Regions from separate parts of the Homo sapiens genome. Here regions 2 and 3 are each linked to region 1. The links are contacts of gene promoters, found by promoter capture Hi-C in blood cells and fetal thymus (Javierre and others, 2016). All regions are on one chromosome and are shown on one strand. The core of a region is centred on a gene start or on the middle of the fragment in contact, and the rest is flanking DNA. Distances in the headings are between cores, read along the strand shown.

Region 1 (4,531 bases), core at 1,119-3,618:
GCCACGGCTATATATGCCACATACAAGTGATCCTTAGGTCTTGCTGCTTGCTTTTTAAAGGGAACTAGGTAGCTCTGGTGCAAGAAAACACTGCTTCAGTACTCCAAGTGTGCCACCTTCATAATTGTAATTGTTGCCATTACCAAAAATATTCTATCATAAGTATCATTCCCTATCATATTTCTCTAATTTACCCCCACAAAATAATTTGAAATTCATATTTTAGATTATCTTCTGTTTATAGTTACCTTTAGCTTTACAAAATGTATTAATTTTTTTCTGCTAGCTTTTTTTGATTATATCAATTGTAACATTTATATCCACTAAACATTTCAAACTTTTATCTTTCCTATTTTAATTGTTAAAATATTTTTCTCAGGCATAATTTTTTTAAATCTCATCCTTATCATTTCTTCTTTTCTTCTTTTAAAAGAAAGATGATTGTTGTCTCTTTGGATCTTTTAGTTTTCTGATTTTTTTTTTTTTTTTTTTTTGATGGAGTCTTGCTCTGTTGCCAGGCTGGAGTTGGAGTGTAGTGGCGCGATCTTGACTCACTGCAACCTCTGCCTCCCGGGTTTAAGTGATTCTCCTGCCTCAGCCTCCTGAGTAGCTGGGGACTACAGGCGTGCGCCACCATGCCTGGCTAATTTTTGTATTTTTAGTAAAAGCGAGGTTTCACCATGTTGGCCAGGATGGTCTCGGTCTCTTGACCTTGTGATCCACCCACCTTGGTCTCCCAAAGTGCTGGGATTACAGGCATAAGCCACCGCACCCAGCCTCTGATTTTTATCTTTTATCTTCTTTTTATATCCTTAGTTTGTTTATAAATAGGCAGAAGAAAATCTAGTTATAGAGACAGATCCAAAAAGTTTTATTTATGAATTGGTCATAGATGGAGAAGGAAAAAAATAATTAGTGTTGAAACCCACTATTTTAACCAGAACAACAAATGAGTTTAAAAGAATGCAACTTAGTGAGATAGGAAAAACTGGGGGAGGAGTATGTGTAAGAGAAAATAATAATTTCTTCTTCTATCACTACCATGTAATAAAATAAAGAGCATTTTTAACATCAAAAAAGACATAAACCCAGATATTTTTAAATGAATACTTTTGATTTTCTGAAAAATTCACTAGATGGTCTTTTTTTCTTTTTCATTTTGTGGTGAATTAATGAAAACTTCTGGCATTAAGGAACACTTGCGGTAGATAATGGAAGGATTTATATTTCAGGAAAACTCACTCTGGTACCTGTATAGAGAATAGACTGGAAAAGATTGAAGACAAAAGCCCAATTAGGACTAGTAATAGGAAGCTGTGGAGGTAGATTACAATTTGGATACTGTGAGGAAGAAAGATATCTACCAAACGGTTAATAAGGAGGCTGGAGGTTGAGGAAATTGTGCCTAATGCACTAGAGTGTTCTCAGTAATCAAAAGTAGCATTTGCTGGGAGTGATGTGGTTGAATTTTTTTTTGAAGAAAAAATGATAATGTGTTGAGTTAAAAATGGAATCTAGCTGTTTTAATAGACATACTTAATCCTTCTGAGCTTCAGAGAGGGAGTCTTGCCTAGCCAACCTGTTCTTAGTATTATGTTTTATTTAGCATGGCTTTGGAAGCCACAAAACTCTATAGGTCTAGTTGAAATAAAATAAAATAGTAGTAACTTGTATCAGACATATATTAAATATTGCCTTCATCAATGAGATCATGAGTTTCTTAAAAGCAAGAGTCCCATTTTCTTCTTCCTACAGAGGTGGCCTATTGTTTAGTGAAAAGAGCCCACGCCTTGGAGACCCACACCGCAGGTCTACGACCCTCAGGCTCTTCAGCTGCAATGGCGGTAATGATGCGCACGTCATAAGATTCTTCAAGGTATTTAATGAAATAAAGGATGTGTAAAGGAGAAGGGATTTTACATGAGTTAGCTATACCTTTCTCTTCTTTCTTCTTCAACGTACTCAGTCCTGGGTACGCACAGAGGGCACTAATGGCGTGGGGCCAGAAGAGCTTTTAATTTTGGAATTCTGAAGAACTGAGAACTCGTGAGTCTGTCAGCAGCTCTGAAGTGGAATATCAATAAAGTTTTGTTAATTTTTTTTAAAGCACCGACTAAACTACAAATCCCTTCTCTCTCCTCCAGGTGGGTGGGTCACGTGGCTTGTCAGGAATCCGGAAGTCTGGCCCGCTCGCCCAATCACGCCCGGAAGCCTATCTAGTGGCGCCAAGCTGGCCAATCCTGGGGACGCTTGCTCTTCGCCAAACCGGGTCCCGCCTCCGCGCGCCGCGCTGACGGGTCGTTAGCGGATACGGCGGCCGCAGGGGCGGAGTCAAGGGCCTTTGCCCGCCTTGGCGGCCGGCTCTACGTTCCCTGTTCTCGCCTGCAGCTCCGCCATGGCTCCTAAAGGCAGCTCCAAACAGCAGTCTGAGGAGGACCTGCTCCTGCAGGATTTCAGCCGCAATCTCTCGGCCAAGTCCTCCGCGCTCTTCTTCGGAAACGCGTTCATCGTGTCTGCCATCCCCATCTGTGAGTGCTGGGAGCGAGGCGGGTTAGGCAGGCCGCCGGCTAGTCGGGCTGGGCGGGGACGTGGCAGGACCCGGCGAGCAGGGAAGGCGTGGGTGCCGGCCGGGGGTCGGCAATCTCTCCAGCTCCCCTGAGCTCGGGGAGGCACGGAGCCTCTTCTTTGGGCACAGTGTTGTCGCTTGGGATTGTCCTGTGCAGCACTCGGGGAGGTCACTTGTTAAAAGTACGCACGTTCCCGAGCTCCACCCCAGGAGAAGGTGGTTAACTAGTTCTGGGGTGGCGGCCCCGAATCTCTATTTAAACAGACAAACTCAAGCATACTGCCTCTGCCCTTTTCTATACAACTGTTGCTTGCCGTTACGAAATTTTAAACTTATTACTTATTTTGCATAAATTAGTTAGGTGAGAAACCCATGAAGTGACCCACTGAATTATAAGTGCATCTTTACGTGAGCTACTTCACACCATTGCATAATTTTCCTGGTTTTTGCAAAAAGAGAGAGGTTGAAGTGCCAGGGGTTAGGGATCTACCTTATTTATACTTTTTAATAATCCTACTGGACCAATTCTAGAATTCTCACTTGGTTGGGAAACTGCAGACTTGGACAAGGTCGTTTTTAGTAGAGCTCAAGTTTCCAGAACTCCTGTCTTTTGCTGCACTGTTGTTGGGCATTTAAAACTAAATGTATTTTTCTCTTTTGTCCTTATACAACCCAGCGTGCCATTAACGTGATGTGAAGCCATATGATGGCTCACTAATTGGACATAGCACTGCTTGGAGTTCTGATAACAGCCACGTCAGCAAGGAAACTATGGTTTGGGGCTGCACGTGGCATTTTGGAATGGCCTGTGTTTCGCATGCTAGTACCCTGATGAATGAAATTTGAAGTCTGACTTGTGATTACGTTGAGCCAGAGTTTGTTCTCATTTTAGAAGTTGAAATCTCATCTGGACTAGTAATAGGAAGGTGATGTTTTTCAAATGTTCTGAACTGGAAAGCTTGAGACTATACTGTTACTGGTTATCTCGCTTCTGAAGATCCTCAGATACTATTGGATTGCATAACTAATAACCTGGTATTTTACCAGGCTTAGCTATAATTAATTTCGCAGGCTTTTGTTGCGGGGTTGTAATGTTTTGCTTCTTTTTGTACCCTTCCCCCTTTTATTTTAATTCAGGGTTATACTGGCGAATATGGCATATGGATCTTATTCAGTCTGCTGTTTTGTATAGTGTGATGACCCTAGTAAGCACATATTTGGTAGCCTTTGCATACAAGAATGTGAAATTTGTTCTCAAGCACAAGTAAGTATGTTTTTCAAGTGAAAGTACGTACTACATGTTATATTTTTATATGTCTTCTTAAAGATCATTTGTGTGTGTTGGTTTTAATAAGCATTAATTTGAGATATATATATTAATAAACATTTTGGGGGAAAGGAACATTGATGCTAGGAAGAATTATTAACTAACTGAAGTAGAGACAATGATCATTCTGACACGGCTACAGAAGCAGATTTTGAGGGTGGAATTAGAACACTTAAACACAGGCCTTAATATGAGGTTCATCAGAGAAACAAACCCACCAAGTAAGTTAACATTTCAGAAGCTAAATGTAATTCCTTATGGAGAGAATTGTTCTGGGCTCTTCACGTACTATTTTTGGAAGTTAAAGAAATGATCTTTTTGTCATTATTATTTTTTGAGACAAGGTCTAGTTCTTGCCCAGTCTGCAGTGCAGTGGCATGATTATGGTTCACTGCAGCCTCAACCTTCCCAGGCTCAAGGGATCCTCCCACCTCAGCCTCCCAAGTAGCTGGGCCTACAGGTGCAGGCTACCATGCCCAGCTAATTTTTTTGTAGAGACAGGCCATGTTGACCAGGCTGGTCTTTTTATTTTATTGCTTTTTTTTTTTTTTAACTCTCTGTCATTTTCAATGCTAATTACGTTTGTTTTCATACAAGTGTATAAAATGTAAAGGATTAACATAGTCTAAGATCACACA
Region 2 (4,482 bases), core at 605-3,104, 87 kb before region 1:
CTGTTCTGGCTGAGGAAAGTTAGGTTTCAACAGCAGGCTTGAAATGAGTTATAGGCTCACTGATGGAGGGGGATGGGTTGAGGGGAGGAAACTATTTTCTGCTCTGGGCTCCCACACTCAACAGGGGAATGGGAAAAGAGTTATGTGCCCTCCAGTACCTCCGAGAACAGCTTTCTTAGTGTTCACCTACTGAGCTTGAGGCAAATTTTCAAGATAGATGATCTAGTTCCTCCTCTCTGTTTAGTGGCTGCCCCTACCCTCAGAGATAGCTGTGCGGAAACCGCATGAGTGTGTGTGTAAGTGCAGGCACGCATGTGTTTGCGTGGAAGGTGGGAGTGGTAGCAGAGGCAGGGGAATGAGGAAGGAGAGGAAAATCTCAGAGAGAATAATGAGGCTGTTGAGTGTGGGAGCCCAGTGCAGAAAATATTCTGGTGCTTGAGAGAGAACAGGAAGGAGTGTGTATTTGTGTATGTTTCTTTTCTTAGATCGTTTCATTCAGGAGGCATCTCCCTGGAGACTGAGGAAATTGTAGGAGTCCCCTGGGGTACTGTCAGCTCTACTTGCTGAGCTTCTGGAGAAAGAGTGAAATACTAGGTAAAGGAGATGCCTCCAGCCGGCTTCCAGGCAGAGGCAGTACTGAGAAGAAGGTGCAGGGAGGTGAGAGGGACCCCTGCCCTGAATAAATTGGAGATATTTCCAGATGTGCTCCCTCCCCACACTCAGCCTCGCTGTGCTAGCTCTCGTCAGGAAGGACAGTAGGATTGTACCATGACTCCCTGAAGCTCTAGGTTGGCAGGAGGGATGCTCCTCACGGTATGCGCTCACCTTCCTTGCTCTGGCCATAACCACTAAGCCTCCCAGCTTCAAATAAGAGCCATTCCTGTGACAACTGCTAAGTCCAGGGAGTGGTTGGAGGGCTGACACTTTCCCTCCTAGGGACTTCAGAAGCCCTGTGGTCTGCCAAAGACTGTCCCTGGCCCTCTGTCCATTCTCCCGAAAGGACTGCCTGCCAGAAGCTTAGAACCAGCAGCCACTAGGGCAGAGGAAGCCTGTGAGTTTGAAATGCCTCACCACACATTTGCAACAGCCTTCTTTGCTACTCTTTTTCATTGCAAATGTGAAGTAATCCATCTGCATTCTTGCTTCTGTGGTCCTATTTATATCATTGTTTCTGGAGAAAGTGTGCTCTATGTTGCAAAAAACAAAAAAAAACCCTGATAAACAAACATCTGAAACACAGACTCTTTAAAGAATAATGTCTTGTAGCCTCTGGGAATGCCACCTATTTACTAAAACAAACATGTCTCACGCATCCTATGCCAGGCTTTGAAACACTGTCAGTGCTTTCATAAACTGGGTCACTGCGGCTAGTGCTCTGGGATGTACAATGACAGGGCAGGAAGTGCCCTTGAATTACACAGTGAGACCCTCTAATTCTCTTTCCTTCTGATTACAACAAGGAGGTTGTTTCAGTTTGGAGCTGATGGATTTGAACACCTTTCCAACACTTGCTTGTTACTATTATTACTGTTTTAACAGGCCATATGTTCAGAGCTTTTTGGCAGGTTTCTGGCTAGAATTTAATTTGTTTGCTTTGTTTTTGTTGCATTTATTTTTGTAATTAACTTCTGTTCATGGCCATTGATATTGGTCTTCCCTTTATGTTGTGATCATGTATTTTAAAAAATAAACTGAAGTCAGACATAAAAGTTCTATTTAAAGAAAGAAATAGTTATGATGTTGTGCAACGTGGCAAAAGCATGTTCAAAAATTTGGGAAACCCAGCGTTCACATATTATAGAGCACCTTGATAAAGTACTGAAAGCAAACTCATTAAAACAGTGTTTCTTGCTACCCATAGGGAACAACTAGGGTTTTTTTTTTAATTGTTTTTAATTTATCATGACCAATTGCTGCTGTAAAATATAATAAAAATGAATTATTATAAACATTATCATGTGCTTGGGTTTAAGGACAATGTCATGTTGCTATATAAGTTATTAAATGCTTACTTTCTGTTTCTGCACTTACCTTGCCACAAAATTCTTACAACCCCCCACGGACCAGCATCCCATCACACTTTGTTATTTATTTATGTATTTATTTATTTATTTTTTAAGATGTAGTCTCGCTTTGTCTCCCAGGCTGGAGTGCAGTGGCACCATCTCAGCTCACTGCAACCTCCGCCTCTTGGGTTCAAGTGATTCTCCTGCCTCAGCCTCCCGAGTAGCTGGGATGACTACAGGCACACTCCACCATGCTGGGCTAATTTTTTTATATGTTTAGTAGAGATGGGGTTTTGCCATGTTGGCCAGGCTCTTCTTGAACTCCTGACCTCAGGTGAGCCTCTCACCTTGGCCTCTCAAAGTGCTTGGATTACAGATATGAGCAACTGCTCCTGGTTCCATCACACTTTGGAAGTAGAAGGTGAGTTCTGCCTAAGCAAAATCAAGCAAGTTAATCCTAAAGATAGTTCAGAGGGAATACTGGCCTACCCAGGTTGAGAAAGCCCTTCACAGTTGTTTTATTTTTAGTACCATCTAGACATTCTTTCATTTATCCAACAGAGAGTATCTACGATGTGCAAGATATTACACAAAACCCCAGGAGGTAGGGGTTGAGGGGAGTAGAAAAGGATGACTACAACAAGAGATAAGTTAAAAATAAATTAATTAAAACCCCAGGAAGCTTATAATGTAATACTGAAGACAGAATATATATTACAAAGCAATTGGTTGTCAGGACCCATGAGTAAGAGTCTAAATATAATAGAAATGTAATGTAATAGAATCAGTACTGAGCTAATTCCATGCACTTCCCTGTTCTCTAATGCCTCAGAGAGATATCCTCAAGGCAGGTGGGTGAGGTGGGCACTGCTGTCCCTGGATCAAGCAAGTGGAGGATGGTCATTAGCCAGAATGGCTAAAATCCTTCTGAGGGAGGCCTTTAACATCCATCATGGCAATAATTCAATCTAGGAAGTTTAGTTTTTTTATTTTCCACAAGGCCATCATGAAGACAAGCAGGAGTGTGAGAATTTGTAAGCCATAATTTGCAAATGTAAATTAACAAGGCTGCATTTCTACAATTTTTTGTTTGCCTGGATTGTCTCTGACTGCAACTTTGTCTTGGTGAACAGATCTGCCCATTCCACCCAAATGGGAAATCCCCTTGCCTGTTCCCAGTACTGAGTAGACCTGGGGCTACCCATGGCTGAGTGCAAAATAGAAGACAAGCCACTGGACCTTAGAAATAGTGCATGAGGGGCCAGGTATGGTGGCTCACATCTGTAATCCCAGCACTTTGGGAGGCCAAGGTGGGCGGATCACCTGAGGTCAGGAGTTGGAGACCAGCCTGGCTAACATGGTGAAACCCTCACCTGTACAAAAATACAAAAATTAGCTGGGTGTGATGGCAGTTGCCTGTAGTCCCAGCTACTGGGGAGGCTGAGGCAGGAGAATCGCTTAAACTCAGGAGGCGGAGGTTGCAGTGACCCGAGATCATGCCACTCTACTCCAGCCTGGGCAACAGAGTGAGACTCCATCTCAAACAAACAAACAAACAAACAAAAAAAGAAAGAAATAGTGCATGAGTTGAAGTCTAGGGAAGAATAGAACTATTGAAACTGTTCTCATTTTAAAGGAACCTTCTGTGTGCAGTAGGAAGTACTATTTGGGTTATGGAACAAAAATATGTAAATTCATGATTTTATAATTTGGTAAAAGGTGTTAAAATATTCACAGGAAAGGCTAATAAAATGTATATGAAATACAACAAAAAATACAAAGAGATGACAAGATCAATTTGCCAAATTCATTTATTCATTCCCCAAAACATTTATTGAATGCCTACTATATGCTAGGTGCTGTTTCAGTGCTACGGATCAATGAAAACAAACAAACAAATGAACAGACAAATTCCTGCTCACGTACAGCTTACATTCTAGGGTGGGAGACAGATAAAACCAAGTTAACTGAATATATAGCATGTTAGATGTTGACAAATGCAATAGATTTGATACCATCTAACAACAGATAAAAAGAAAATATGGAATGTAAGGAACTGTGCATGAGGGAGAAAGGGAAATTAGTGTTTTAATAGGGGGACCTGGGAAAGCCTTGCTAAGAAGGTACCACTTAAGTAAAGATGTGATGGAGTTGAGGGAGTGAGCCATGGTGATATCTGGGGGAAGAGCCTTGTGGGAAGAAGGAATAGCAAGTCCAAAGGTCTGAGACAGGGTCATGCCAAAAAGGTTCCAGGAAGAAGAAAGAAAAAGAAAAAAAGGAAGGAGGGAAAAAAGGAAAGAAGGAAGGAAGAAAAGAAGGAAGGGAGGGAGGGAGGGAGGGAAAGCCCTTCACAGTGTTTTTATTTTTAGTGGCATGTAGACATTCTTTCATTTATCCAGTTCTTTCATTTATTCTTTCACCTTTCCAAAGAAAGAAAGGAAAGAAAGAGAAGAAAAAAAGAAAGACAGAAAAAAGA
Region 3 (4,326 bases), core at 1,657-4,156, 100 kb before region 1:
ATGTTTTTCCTTCACTTTCATTTTTCTTGGCCAATTTCCTCTTTCTAATATCTGTTTTGTTTTGTTTTGTTTTGTTTTTTTGAGACAGAGTCTTGCTCTGTAGCCCAGGCTGGAGTGCAGTGGTGCAATCTTGCTCACTGCTACCTCTGCTTCCCAGGTCCCGGTTCAAGCAATTCTCCTGCCTCAGCTTCCTGAGTAGCTGGGATTACAGGCAGGAGCCACCATGCCCAGCTAATTTTATTTTTGTAATTTTAGTAGAGACAGGGTTTCACCATGTTGGCCAGGCTGGTCTTGAACTCCTGACCTCGTGATCCACCTGCCTCGGCCTCCCAAAGTGCTGGGAGTACAGGCATGAGCCACCGTGCCCGGCCTTTAATATCTATTTTTGTAAAATATTTTGTGAGTTTATCACTGGGAGACAAGGAAGTAACACAATTTCACGCCTTGCTGTCTGTGCATGAACTGAAAAACAGATGTGCAGTGATCAATTGCTGACAGATTTTCAAAGCAGTGAATGATTGGTCACTGTCATTGATGATGATGCACATTTGTTAATTACATAATGGTTGGCAGACTGAAGTTCTTGCAGTGAAGTTTGTACTTTGTGTAATTACATTTAGTAGGCATAGTCACCGAAATTTGAATCATGTCATTGGGTAACTGCCTTTGTGTATGTATGTGTATATGCATATATGCATAGTTATGTGTGTGAATCTAGAAAAAGGTTATATAGGTAGCCCATTGTATTATTCTTGCAGCTTTTCTGCCACTTTCAAGTTTATCTTAATAAAAGTTAGGGGTGGGAGGGTGGGAAGGAAGCAGATCATAAGGAGATAAGACAACGCAATAGAAAATCTAAAGAAAGAATAGATAAGCCAGGCGCCCTGGCTCACACCTGTAATCCCAGCACTTTGGGAGGCCGAGGCGGGTGGATCACGAGGTCACGAAATTGAGACCATCCTGGCTAACATGGTGAAACCCCATCTCTACTAAAAATGCAAAAAAAAAAAAAAAAAAAAAAAAATTAGCCGGGCGTGGTGGCGGGCGCCTGTAGTCCCAGCTACTCAGGAGGCTGAGGCAGGAGAATGGCGTGAACCCGGGAGGCGGAGCTTGCAGTGAGCCAAGATCGCGCCACTGCACTCCAGCCTGGGCGACAGAGCGAGACTCCGTCTCAAAAAAAAAAAAAAAAAAGAATAGATAATAAAAACAAACAGGGAATCCAGAGACTAGAAAAGGCTATGGAATCAAACCGCCTGGGTTTGAATCTCATTTTAATTACCAGCCATGTGATCTTAGACAAGTTATGGAATATCTCTGAACTTGTTTCTCTTAAAAATTAGGGCTAAAAGAATATCTACTTCATAGGGTAATATGGATGGTTAAATAACTTTCATATATGAAGTAATTCTAAGTGTACAGATGTGTTAAGATGGGGAGACTTTACTGTCTTTAGATACTAATAAGAATCCAGAAGACAGAGGTTGAAGCTAGGAGAAGAGATAGTGGCGTATGCTTCTTAAGAAGGTGGGAGGGGATGGGATCCAAATAAGAAACAGAGGAGTTGGTCTTGCACTAAGACCCTCTCTATTTTAACAGGAGGGAAAGAGAATAGGATGGGTGAAGGTATAGGTTGGATAGTAACTTTGCTAGGGGGAAGAAGTTATTTAATTTTGTAGTCTCCAAGAAATAAAAGGTGAGGCATTTTCTGAGCATGAACAGCACAATAGGGGATTAGAGGTTGAAGAGAGTGTGGAAGACTTGAGATGGCTCTTGCAGAGACTAAGAGAGCCAGCTGGCCAAATAACTATAACAGCATTGTTGGCAGTGTGGAGGGCCCAGAGTGACTGACCTTAAAATTATAGTTCTTTCAGCCTGCCCTTTTGTGTTTCTTACTTCAGCTGCCAGTGGCTCAGCTGCCTTGGTGCAGGCATGGAGAGTGTGGGCTGTTGAGTTCATCCAGGATTGAGGTTTTTCCAGATGGATGTGAGGAAAAGATAGACAAGAGAATTTATGGTATTGGCAAGGAGGTTACTGAAAGTATGTACCATGAAATCTAACCTGGGAGGGAATTAGTAGTAGAAGAGGGCTAGTGATGAGGGGGAAAATAGGGGGGACCTGTTTTCTTTGGAGAATTGTTGGAGTGCCTTGGGTGTTTCTTTCCTTCTCTCCCAGGCAAAGATAGTGGCATTCCTGTCTCCTTAGCTCAAATAAAAAGGATACTTTATCGAAACCACCTGACGAGGTTTAAATGTGCCTCTGGAGTTTGAAGAGCATTAAGGACTGGTACGAGTAGCTCTGTGCAAATCATCCAGGTTAGAGAAGGTGGGGAGGAAAGGGGAGAAGTGGGCAGGGGCACTGGGAGCAAACTGCACATCCACAAGCAGTGAGGCAAGGGTGGGTGACTGTTTCTCCTGAGCCAGATGTGGGCCTGTGGAGAAGCTTGCCTGGGGCAACCTCATATTCCAAAACTGGCTGGAGGGGGTATGTGACCACAGGGAAGGGAGTGGCCACCAGATAGCCAGGGGCTGAGGAGAGAATTGTAGAGGGCCAGCCTGAGGAGAGACATTGCCTTCACAATGGGAGCATAGTTGGATGTTCCAAGGGGAGTATCTCCCTGAAATTCACAAAAATACCCAGTGAAGTAAAGAGTGAGCAACAGGATTCTGCCATACCGAGAGGCTGCCATAGGTGACTGTGTCTGTGCCTACCAAGTGGGACCTTGATGACCTCTCCTCCCTTTTCCTGATCCAACCCTGAAAGCACAGAGGTAGTTAATTGGGGGTTTAAGAAGGTGGGTGTGGGTGGACAGAGAGCAAGGAGACGGAAGAAGCAGCCGTCTGTATTTCCATCCCTTCTCCCCACCCCCTAGGTTTTCCAGTCTGCTGCAGCAACAAGATGGGGGTGGGGAGGCTCAAATTTTATGAGTGTCATTCAAATTTTATTGAACATTTTAATTACTGAACTGAGACCATTCTTGTGGCTGAGTTACCAGGAGAATTTTTATGACCTGAAAGAAGCCAGGAAAGTAAGTCTGCACTAGGGACAAGGAAAACAAACAAAAAAGCAACTAGCCTATAGAGGAGTTGGAAAAGGGTGATTGATGTGGTTTAGATCTGTGTCCCCGCCCCAATTTCATGTTCAATTGCAATCCCCAATGTTGGTGGTGGGGCCTGGTGGAGGTGATTGGATCATGGTGGTGGTTTCTCATGAATGGTTTAGCACCACTGCTCTTGATGCTATCCTTAAGATAGTGAGTGAGTTCTTGCCAGATCTGGTTGTTTGAAAGTGCATAGCACCTCCCCACTCTTGCTCCTGTTCCTACCATGTGAGATGTCTGCTCTCCCTTTGCCTTCCTCCATGATTGAAAGCTTCCTGAGGCCTCTCCAGAAGCAGAAGCTGCTATGCTGCCTGTACAGCCTGCAGAACCATAAGCCAATCAAACCTCTTTGCTTCATAAATTACCCAGTCCCTGGTATTTCTTTATAGCAGTGCAAGAACGGACTAATAGAGTGATTTAGAGAAAAAAAAAAAACTTGTATTATCATTCTGCTGTATAAAATTCAGTTCATTCACTATAATACTGATCACATCAGTTTAGTAAAATAATGATAACAAGGTCCAGAGTGTGGCTGTGGAAGTAGCTGGCTCTGATGGAGTGGACTAGAAGGTCATTGAGGGTGAAGAAGGCAAGGTATGAGAAGACTTGGTGATGGCTGAGTCATCTTTGTAGATAATGAATTCTTCCATGATGCTGGCAAAGGTTGGGGTTGAAAGACTGCAAGCCCAAGGCCAGTGGTTCTTAAACTTTAGAGCGCATTAGAATCCACCTAGAGAGCCATTAGAAGATAGAGGGGCCCAGGCTTATTGAAGTAGGATACGGCCTGGGCTTCTGTATGTTTTCAACAAGTTCTCAGGTAGTATGAAATACACAACAAAATTTGAGAACCTCTACCCAATATTTAGTGGTGAGTAGTAAGTGATAAATAGGTACATAACCATATCTACCTGAAGAAAGGAAGAGAGGGCAATTTAGCCAAATAGGAGGAATACCCAGGAAGCAATTTTTTTCTTTTTGTTACATGAGGGTAAAGAAGTAGTAGTTTGAGAACAGTAATAGGGTCAACTAGCCTCTCAACCCATTATCCATAACTATTCTTTTTCATTTTTTTTCTTTTTGTGAATATGAGTGTTGTGGATTGAACTGTATCTCCCCTGAAAAAGATCTATTGAAGTCCTAACCTTTAGTACCTCAGAATATGATCTTATTTGGAAATAGAGTCATGATAATTTGGAAATATATGTAATCAGTTAAGATGGGTCCCTAAC

What was found. Contacts are between HindIII fragments. The CHiCAGO score rates a contact against its expected background, and 5 or more counts as called.
Region 2: a contact is called between a fragment that was not itself captured here and the fragment with the promoter of SSR3 in region 1, in 3 of 17 cell types (megakaryocytes, M2 macrophages and monocytes). The highest score is 11.3, in megakaryocytes.
Region 3: a contact is called between a fragment that was not itself captured here and the fragment with the promoter of SSR3 in region 1, in 5 of 17 cell types (M2 macrophages, total B cells, megakaryocytes and 2 more). The highest score is 5.9, in M2 macrophages.

What each region holds. Positions count from the first base shown.
Region 1 is chr3:156,552,954-156,557,484 of GRCh38, reverse strand. SSR3 (signal sequence receptor subunit 3) reads left to right here and starts at 2,368. Exons shown (of 5, transcript NM_007107.5): 1 at 2,368-2,528; 2 at 3,704-3,830. The coding sequence starts at 2,396. RefSeq lists an enhancer at 2,430-2,509. The HindIII fragment of the contact is 5,682 bases long and covers 1-3,526 here.
Region 2 is chr3:156,639,802-156,644,283 of GRCh38, reverse strand. No RefSeq gene overlaps it. Among named protein-coding and RNA genes, the nearest start is that of TIPARP, 33 kb to the left of the region's middle. The HindIII fragment of the contact is 1,672 bases long and covers 1,019-2,690 here.
Region 3 is chr3:156,657,026-156,661,351 of GRCh38, reverse strand. No RefSeq gene overlaps it. Among named protein-coding and RNA genes, the nearest start is that of TIPARP, 15 kb to the left of the region's middle. The HindIII fragment of the contact is 929 bases long and covers 2,442-3,370 here.